3 separate regions of the Homo sapiens genome follow, and all the other regions are linked to region 1. The links are contacts of gene promoters, found by promoter capture Hi-C in blood cells and fetal thymus (Javierre and others, 2016). All regions are on one chromosome and are shown on one strand. The core of a region is centred on a gene start or on the middle of the fragment in contact, and the rest is flanking DNA. Distances in the headings are between cores, read along the strand shown.

Region 1 (3,421 bases), core at 317-2,816:
ATCACTTAGCTGAGATAAAAAAGAAAAGAATCCTCGAATAGCATTTAATCTTCAAAATAAGAATTTTCCATTCTTGGGTCAGACCGATAGATGACATGGCATTTAGACATCCAATTCATACCTTTGCTTGCAACTGAGCCTCAGACACACATATATGATGGAAATGTTCTTTGGCATTACACTGCTTTCTTAGTTTGCATCGCTAGTCACCTTTGTATCATTTGCATCTGATTTGGAAAATATTTTAGAACAACCCAATAACAACTTCGAGATTAAAAAATAAAATTCTACACACTTTACAGTTCCTTGCTATTACATGAATGTGTAAATTGAATTCCCTCTCAGGAGAAAAAAAACAAAACAAGGGCTGGCTTCCCAAAAATGTTTTCACTGGCTTTAGGGAACTAAAACACCAGTGTCTGGGTGAGTAATACTTCCTGTAAAATAAAGATAGATCAACACATAATTAAGTCCTGGCTCACATATAATTGTTGTTTTGGAAACAGTTTTGAGGATAAATATGGTTATGCTAATGAAACTGCCCATGATTTCCACTAATGATCCAGTTTATTAATTAGGTCAGGACATTTTTCCACCTTGTGCTATCCATTTTGGAATGCTGAAAAGGGTTAAAAAAAAAAACTTCTAAGAGAACACTGTAGGCGAAGAAAAAGAGAGAAATTTTAAATTAGTTATCAACTCTTCTAAGGATTCCAGTTGGAGGAGTAGATCGAAAGTGCTTTTTCGATTATTTATGGGTTTCGAAGATTCTTCCTACTCCACTAGGCAGAAAAACAGAGTTGTAATATACAGCATTTAGAATTCATAATCCTTAGCATTATTTCTCTGAACTCGACATCCTAAATAGCCAGCGTTTACTAATTCCAGAGCTGAGTGTAGTTTTGTAGGAAGTTCTACTGAATGCGGAGACCAAAGGGGAGCCTGCCTGCTCTGAGGGTTTTGTTGAGGCTGAGTGTGAACTCCGGGCGAGAAAGCGCATCTCAGCTCTTAGATCACACCCACTCAGGGTGTGCGTGTGTGTGTGCGCGGGTGCCTGCGCGCGTGTGTACGTGTGGGGAGGTGTGCGCCAAAGGGGTGGGGTGAGGGGCGGCGAGGAGGGCTGTAGGTGAAGCGCGGGGAGAGGGAGGTCGCCCGCTCCGGCCTCTCCCCCAGGGGCCCTGCGGCTGGCCAGCGCTCCGGCTGCACCTCCTGGTGCGCGCCGCGGCGGCGCCACAGGCCCCTCGACCCTTTGACCACCGCCCTCGGGCCGCGCGTCCGGCAGCCGGGACCGGTGATGGCGCGGGACTGACGGCCGTCTCCTCCCAGACCCCTCTGTCCCGCCTGGGGCTCGCTGGGGCTGCGGCGCCGCCCCGAGCTGCATGTGGGGCGGGCGCGCCCGAGCCCAGAGCGAGCGGCCCTCGGCGCCCCCGAGGCGGTGCCCCGCCGCGCCAGAGTACGAGGAGGAGCGGCGGGCCGGGCCAGGCTCCCCACGCGCCGCAGCCTCGGAGCACGGGCTCCCCGGAGGGGACTTGGGGCGTCCCAGCCCAGGAGGAAGGACCCGGAAGCAGAAGCGGAGCCGCGAGTCGAGCCGAGCCACTGCCCCCGCTGCCCGCGGGCGCCGGGTGGGGGTCCCGGCGGCTGGATGGGCAGCGGCGGCGCGGGCCGCGGGCGGCGATGGGCGAGGAGCAGAGCACGGTGAGCGGCGGCGGCGGGCCCCAGGAGTCGCAGACCCTGGCCAGTGGCACTGCGGGCCACCCTGAGCCCCCGAGGCCTCAGGGGGACAGCGCCCGGGCGCCCCCGCTGCGCGCCGCCTCCGCGGAGCCGAGCGGCGGTGGCTGCGGAAGCGACTGGGGCTGCGCGGACACCAGCGCCCCAGAGCCCGCGAGGAGCCTGGGGCCCCCGGGCTGGAGTAAGAGCCGAGCACCGGCGCAGCCTGCGGGACTGGCACTCACCGGGCCTCTCAATCCCCAGACCTTGCCACTGCAGTTGGAGCTGGAGGAGGAAGAGGAGGAAGCTGGGGATCGAAAAGAGGGAGGGGATGAACAGCAGGAGGCGCCCCCCGGCGAAGAGCTGGAGCCCAGGACCCGCGTGGGGGCCGCCGACGGACTGGTCCTGGACGTGCTGGGTCAGCGGCGCCCGTCCCTCGCCAAGAGACAAGTCTTCTGCTCCGTGTACTGCGTGGAGAGCGACCTGCCCGAGGCCCCCGCCTCGGAGCAGCTCTCGCCGCCCGCGTCGCCACCTGGGGCTCCGCCAGTGTTGAACCCTCCCAGCACCCGCTCTTCCTTCCCCAGCCCCCGACTGTCCCTCCCAACGGATTCCCTCTCCCCCGACGGCGGCAGCATCGAGCTGGAGTTCTACCTGGCGCCCGAGCCGTTCTCCATGCCCAGCCTGTTGGGAGCTCCACCCTACTCTGGCCTGGGCGGTGTAGGGGATCCCTATGTGCCCCTCATGGTGCTGATGTGCCGGGTGTGCCTGGAAGACAAGCCCATCAAGCCCCTGCCTTGCTGCAAGAAGGCCGTGTGCGAGGAGTGCCTCAAAGTCTACCTGAGCGCCCAGGTAACTTCACCCCCTTCTCTTCCCCATTTATCATTCCAAATCACTGGCGAGGAGGTCCTGCTCTCGATCTGATCTCCCTGCTCGCGCGAAGAGGTGACCGACACACTTACTGAGGATCTCTGTTAGTTTCTCACGTCTCAGTTGTTATTTAAGTGTATTATGACCTCACTGGTTTACTTAACTGGAATTTAACTTTGCTGTGAACTTCAGGCTATGGTTGGCATGTGTAGAAGGCACAAGATACAAGTTGTTGCCCTCCTCTTATTTCTTATACAGGATTGCAAGCACAAGCTTGCTCAAAGGAGGAGAGGAAGAGACTGCCTCATCGGCCTGGTATCCCAGAAACTAACAAGCAGTGGGCATAGAATAAATATTTATGGAGCTGGTGGAGAAAAGAATTGGAATAAATATTTCAGACCCATAATACATGAATTTGTAATTTTGCTTCATTTGTATATTCCAGGAAAGAGTGAATGTTTAAAAAAATGTATCCCTTGGCCTTTGCCTACTTTTCAGTTTCCTTTTTCCACAGTAAAGTTGAAGTACTTTTCTTTCACTGAGGTTTTAAGCCAGCACTCTTTAAGAGGGAAGCAAAACAGAAAGAGCAAAACAAAGCAAAGAGAGGCTAAGAGGTTTCTCAGAACAAGCACTGGTGAAACTTTCCTCCTCTGCTTTTATTTGAAAACTTGGTTTTTTTTCTTGGAAAGCTTGAGAGTGCACCAGACCAGCTTTCCTTCACTGACGGTGAATGCGTTCTTCCAGCAGTTTTCAATCTGTGATGTTTCTGCCAGTGTTTTGCACAATCCTGGATGCCCTTTGATCCTGTGTCCAATTGTCCTAGGCCTATTCATCTTTCAAAACCCTG
Region 2 (3,421 bases), core at 268-2,767, 330 kb after region 1:
TGAGGAGGTCATGAGACAATTACAGAAATATCAGAGGTGTTCAAGGATTTTACATCTGTGGATAAATCACAACATACCCACATACATTTCAATCATAAGCATATGAGAGTTCAAAACAAACCTGAGTGGGGAGAATGGGAAAGGAATACTGAATTACAAAGCTCAAAGAGATTTTTTGTATATTCATTTTCTATTGTTAACATGTTTTTATTGCAAGATGTAAAGTACAATACAAATGAGCGATTATTGCCATTAACATAAACGAAGTTACATGATAGAATTTTGTAGGCTCACAGACTCACAGGCTGAAAAGGGATATTAAACGGCAATTAGCTAAACCATCCATGTAGTATCTGAACCCTTCAATAGCATCATGGAACAGTTCTATCCTCTTTCCAAAAATGTGTGCATTGGTAGGGAGCCTAGTACCTCAAGAGGCTGCCTTAGACAGTACTGGCAGAAATTATTTTCTTATATCAAGCTGAAAATTTTCCCTGTAGTTCTTCTACCACACCTAACCCATCCCTCCTGCTTTCCTCTCTAACCCACAAACACAACGTCAAACAGGTGGACAGTGACCCCGCTGGGCTGGACTATCTGTGGCCACAGTGACTGGTCTAAGAGATAATCTTATAATTCAAACCAGGCATTCAGGGGCCATCTGCATTTGTCAAGCAGAGGCTAGGAGAGAAGCCATATTCCCCACCACAAGGAGAAGCGTTGAGAGTTAGCCAAAACCTAATGAAAAGCAGAGACAAAATAAGAGTAGAGGGTGTCCTGTACTTCTAGGCTTTCTGTACTTTCTGGTCTCAAAGATCCCAGGAGCTACCCTTATCCTCCAGTCTTCTCCTTTATTTATGAGTTACTCCAGTATCCTTCCTTTATTTCTGAATTACTCCAGTACTCTCAAAAAGCTTCAAATTCCTTCACCACCTTCATCCCATACCTTTTAATCAGCCTCAGTTCTTCTAACCACAGAGGTTAGGCTCTTTGAACGGAATATGGCTATAAAAACCATTTTTGGCAATATAAAGGTCTTACATAAAATAAAATAGTGAGTTGCAGGAAAGCAGTGAAAATAAAATTGGACATTTGTGTGTATATTTATTTATTACTGGGAGAAAAAAAATGTTACAGAATACAACCACTTCCAGAGCAAACCACATTTGCCAATGTCAACAATCCACTCTTATAAATAACATCACCATCTTGAATGGCTTGTTCAGTTACAGAGTGGTAGCATCACACTACCCTTAGTAGGAAGGAATTTAGCTTATGTTGTACATGCATTCTCCCTTGTTTCTTTTTCATAAATTTCAGCAAGAATACTTGAGAAAATACTTTATATTTTCACAAATTAACTGTGTCTTTATAGATTCCTTTTCTCTACACTATTGCAGAAACACAAGTTTGCCAATTACTTCCAGTTGAAAAGAATGAACTAAATCATATGTACATACAGGTATATGAACATCTCAACTGTAGAATGCAAACATGAAAGTCCTGCTCTGACAGGAGACTATTTTATTCTCTTTAAAATGACACACCTAGAACTGAATACAGTGATATATGTATGATCTGACCAAGGTGGAAGAAAATGGAATCATCACCTTCCTCATGCTAGATACTATATTCCTTTAAGTGCAGTGTAAGACTGAATTGGCTTTTTGGTGATCACATCCAATTACTAAGTTATTAATAGGCTTCTTTTTGTTCAAAATCACCATATTCTTTAAAAAACAAAACAGCAAATACGTTGTTGCTCTCTTCCTGAAACTGAACTATGATTTTCTGAATCTAGGCTGATTGATATTTGTTAATCACACAATCAGAATAGCATTTTTGAAACCTTGTAGAGAGTTAATATTCTTTGTTTGGCAGCACATGCCAGAATCATGCCTTTTTAATTGAACCCTCTGAAATCAACATGGCTGAGGTCCAGGGTACACAGCTGAGTATGCCAGCCTTTCCCTTCCTGGCAAGCGATGAGCCCTGACACTTCCACTTCTATACTGAGTTTCACCTTGTTGTTCAGTCATAGATTTAGAGTGACAGCTTCCCTAGCCTCTTCCTCTGTTAGCAAAATATGTCAAAAATCTGCCTAAAGTGCCGAGCTGAATGAAGCTTTCAGCAAATATTTTGTGTCAGTTTTGTGACAAGTAACTGGAAGGTATTATTCATCATTCAGACACTGATGAGGCTGAAGAGTGTAGTAGTCAACTGAAGACCAGATCCAGACTGGGTTTCAAACCCGGCTCGCCATTTATTAATACTAGCTGTGGAACCCTGAGCAAGTCATTTGACCTCTTTGTCCTTCAGGTTTCTCATCTACACAGTGGGGTTAAATATTGGTACCTACCTAAAGGGATCATAGGGATTAAACAGTTAATACACATATAAAGTGCTTATTATTGGCACATAATAAGCACTTTATAAATCTGCCACATAATAAGCACTCTATAAATGTTTGCTGTGTTTTTCATTTTCTCCTTCTTGTCATACTTACTCTATGATAAAGTTCCATTCTCTTTGTAATCTCCAAGTTCTTTAGCAACTTTAACCCTCCCAGACACAGGCATACCACGACTCTGCCCTCTGTTTCAATAAGGTTTCCCCTTTGCAAAGGAATATGACCTGCCACCATTATATTCCAGCTTCAAGTTCCACCTCACTAGATCACAGTGATCCTTATCAGACATCATTTATCAACCTGCATTATCAACCTGCATAATATCAAGTGTATGTTAATATGTTTAGGAATGAGGCCAGACTACAAGTATTGCTTTTGGCTCCTTTCTAAATTTGTTTCTTCTATGCCCTCATTCTCCCTTTCATCTTAATACCTACTTTTCTCCAAAACAATCAGCCTTCCAGGTTTATCAAGTATAGTTGGTCCTCCATATCTGTGGGTTTTGCATTAACGGATTCAACCAACCATAGATAAAAAAAAAAATTAAAAAAAAAGATACAAATAAAAAACAATACAGTGTTATCAACTATTTACATAGCATTTGCATTATATTAGGTATCATAAGTAATACAGAGATGACAAAGTATATGGAAGGGTATGTGCAGGTGATATACAAATACGACACCATTTTATCTTCAGCATCTGCAGATTTGGTTATCTATGGGGGTCCTGGAACCAATACCCCATAGATACTGAGGGACCACTGTATTTTTTCTCCCTCCTACTTTAGTTTAGAGGCTCACTGATGTAGCCAGCAAGGGCAAATGAGGTTTCCTGGTTCTCATTAGGCAAATTCCACTCAGAGCCAAGAAACCCTCATTTAATTATCTTAATGCATGGTTCAGACATCCAAATCTTGTTCATAAACACCATCTGCATAAAGAATTGTTCACCTCCCTGATTTTCTTCTCTCTTCCCAAATCCTGACCAGCAGCAGGAAGAGGCAATAGA
Region 3 (3,421 bases), core at 237-2,736, 300 kb after region 1:
CTGAGGCCTGGAATCTTAGCAGAGAGAATGGGGCTGTAAACTTGACCAGAGTGGACAAATGTAGACAAAGAAAGCTCACTAGCAGGGATGCTGGCATTCTCCCTTATTTGTGCTTCCAGCCTGTTGGTTGAAGTAGAGGCAGGAAACCAACCCTGCCCAGCTGGTTCTCAGGCCGTGCTGGCTCGCCCACCACAGCACACAAGTACTCAGTCTCTGTGCCCAATCTATAGCTGCCTGTTGAGTGTGAAGTGGCTAACTTGTGAAAACTCCCTGCCACCTTCTTTTTTTACCATATTCAGCACACCGCATTGTATTAGATAAAGTTATGGTACTTTAAACAAATATCTCCGTTCACCAACCAATTTCTGCACACCATAGTCTCAGCCTTATAATCTGAAAACACAATATTAGAATTGGATAGAAAAACAATCAAGAAAACTTGTGGTAATATCTTAAAGCTTCCAACACATTTTAGCTATTTATTTTATTCCATTCATCAAAATTCTGATTTCATTAGTTTGGTAAGAATCTTATGCACATCATCTCTATTCATCTAAAAGCTTTTCATTATTCACTCTGACCTAGAAGTGATATTCATAATGGCCATGGCATAAGTAGCATTTTTTATTTTTGTCATAAAATGTGTGTGAATAACTCAGATTAGATAAATCAAACACTTGTTGGTAGGTGGGCAGTCTTACCTAGTTTAGGCAGTGAGCCTACTCTTAGCTTCAGGAGCATCACTAAGAGCTGCCTGGTCCTCCCTCACCATGGGTGTGCAAGATCATCCTGATGGGACTGATTGCTGAGCTTCTCAATTACATCTAGTGAGGCTCAGTTCACAAGCAGTAGTTTAAAGTGTTTCACAAGTCCTAAAAAGTAATTGCACACAATGGACATAACCTTTTACTAACAAACCAAAATGACTTCAGGTCAACACCATGTGTGTATGAAAGGATACCTCCACAGAAAATGTACAGTTGACCCTTGAACAACAGGAGTTTGAACTGTGAGGGTCCACTTATGTGCAGATTTTCTTCTGCCTCTGGCACCCCTTGAAACAGTGATACCAACCTCTCCCCTTCTGCAGCCTACTCAACATGAAGACAATGAGGATAAAGACCTTTATCATCATCTGCTTCCACTTAATGAATAGTACATATATTATCTCTGTTGTTTTTCTTTTAACATTTTGTTTCCAGAGCTTACTTTATTGTAAGAATACCACATGTAATGCATATAACATAAAAATATGTGTTAATTGGCCATTTATGTTATCAACAAGGCTTATGGTCAACAGTAGCTGTTGGTAGTTAGGTTTAGGGGGTGTCCAAAGTTAGAATCAGATTTTTGTTTTATTTATTTATTTATTTTTTTGAGACTGAGTCTCACCCTGTTGCCCAGGTTGGAGTGCAGTGGTGCAATCTTGGCTCACTGCAACCTCTGCCTCCTGGGTTCAAGCAATTCTCTGCCTCAGCCTCCCGAGTAGCTGGGATTACAGGCACCTACCACCACGCCTGGCTAATTTTTGTATTTTTAGTAGAGACAGGATTTTACCATCTTGGCCAGGCTGGTCTTGAACTCCTGACCTTGTGATCCACCTGCCCTGGCCTCCCAAAGTGTTGGGATTACAGGCGTGAGCCACAACTCCCAACCTAGAATCGGATTTTTGACTGTGCAGGCCTAATCCCCGAGTGGCTCAGGCGTCAATTCTTTCAATTATCAAAAATTCTGATGCAATTGTGATTACAAAACAAACTAGCTTTTAAAAAAAGTAAGCCATTCTGAAATTTAACGATTTACCACATTTTAAACACAGTTGCTATGATGAACATATTTGTAAATTTACAGTGCTACTTTATCTCACAACTCACATCACATAAAGATTACAACTATTGGCTGGGCATGGTGGCTCATGCCTGTAATCCCAGAACTTTGGGAGGCCAAGGTGGGTGGATCAACTGAGGTCAGGAGTTCGAGACCAGCCTGGCCAACACGGTGAAACCCCGTCTTTACTAAAAATGCAAAAATTAGCTGTGCTTGATGGCACATCCCTGTAATCCCAGCTACTTGGGAGGCTGAGGTGGGAGAATCTCTCGAACCAGGGAGGCAGAGGCTGCAGTGAGCCGAGATCTTGCCACTGCCTTCCAGCCTGGGTGACAGAGAGATGAGACCCTGTCTCAAAAAAAGATTACAACTATTGGCAGGTCATTTTAGCAATGCAATCTGCATATCTTACTCTAAATTACACATTTTGTTAGAAATCTGTTCTTGAACCATAGCAAACAGAACAAAGTGCATGCTTTAGGATGTGTCTTCATGATATGCCATGCCGTTCACAGTGGCCAGTGTAGAGGGAACCCAGGGATCTACACGGCTCTTCTGTCACTGTTCATTGTTCCAAAATTACGTGTAAGCTTTAAAGTTGTTCAACATCAACCCCATCGTCCTCCTCTCACTTAGTATTCAATTTGAGTGGAAGTAGTGTGATAAAGGAAGATGGTGGTAAGGTTGAAAAGTGACTTAATATGAAATGTGAAACAACTTCTTCAAACCTAGCATTCAAATGTAATTTCAAACTATAACAATATTTGGCAAAATCTTATGGCTACTTTTGATAACTTCTAAGCATGGTAAAATTCTTTATGCTACATTTCTGCTTGACTTTCAGTTCACACCAGAGGGTATATTCATGTACACACACATTATATATATAATATATATAATACATATCCATCCATTATATATATATATAAATTAAAGCAAACCAAAAATGACAAAATCATGTCTTTCACAGAAATCATCCCATTTCACCTTTGAATGTGAAGACTGACAAATTGCTTAAATGAAAATGCTGAGTACAGAGATGCTTTTTTTTACAAAGCGCTTCATCAGTCATTTCCCCCAGAGCATGTATCACCACCACAAGGCTTTGAGGTGGATCAACATTTTTCAAATACAAGGGCATTGAGAATTATGTAATAGCTGGTAAAATACCAATCCATAAGGGGAAAACAGTGTAGGGAAAATGGCTGTGCTTTAGTCAGGAGTAAGCTGAGGTGGTGTTGCAAAACTGAATGGCCTTAGACATACTAACTGCTGCCCAAGGAGGCACCTGTATCCTTTTAGGAACACGATGTTGTACCTTTATCCCTGACAATTGGCAGAACATAACAGCAGTTCTGCAAGGGGTCTCATGGGAAATTAAGTTGGTTGAGAGCCTTATTGATGGCCCCCTGCAGAGACGGTGGGCATCCCTGGTCTCTGGCCTATGCTGGGCCCTAAAAGTCATAACTAGTATAGCTGGGATCCTAGTAGTGAGCTGTCGCTCTCTGTATTGTTGTGGGTTATGGATCCAGGGCTCTGCCCTATGGGCATGTATCCCTACCTGAAAGACTTCCCTTGGCCTAGGGGGTAGAGT

The links. Contacts are between HindIII fragments. The CHiCAGO score rates a contact against its expected background, and 5 or more counts as called.
Region 2: a contact is called between a fragment that was not itself captured here and the fragment with the promoter of RNF217 in region 1, in 3 of 17 cell types (M0 macrophages, M2 macrophages and M1 macrophages). The highest score is 6.4, in M0 macrophages.
Region 3: a fragment that was not itself captured here is called in contact with the fragment with the promoter of RNF217 in region 1 in 1 of 17 cell types (M1 macrophages); the score reaches 5.0 in M1 macrophages.

Annotation. Positions count from the first base shown.
Region 1 is chr6:124,960,871-124,964,291 of GRCh38, forward strand. RNF217 (ring finger protein 217) reads left to right here and starts at 1,567. Exons shown (of 6, transcript NM_001286398.3): 1 at 1,567-2,556. The coding sequence starts at 1,675. RNF217-AS1 (RNF217 antisense RNA 1) reads right to left here and starts at 2,157. Exons shown (of 7, transcript NR_026876.1): 1 at 1,953-2,157. The HindIII fragment of the contact is 3,639 bases long and covers 1-2,845 here.
Region 2 is chr6:125,293,172-125,296,592 of GRCh38, forward strand. All of the region lies in intron 3 of HDDC2 (HD domain containing 2), which reads right to left. Among named protein-coding and RNA genes, the nearest start is that of HDDC2, 7.1 kb to the right of the region's middle. The HindIII fragment of the contact is 1,210 bases long and covers 913-2,122 here.
Region 3 is chr6:125,264,481-125,267,901 of GRCh38, forward strand. No RefSeq gene overlaps it. Among named protein-coding and RNA genes, the nearest start is that of HDDC2, 36 kb to the right of the region's middle. The HindIII fragment of the contact is 1,857 bases long and covers 559-2,415 here.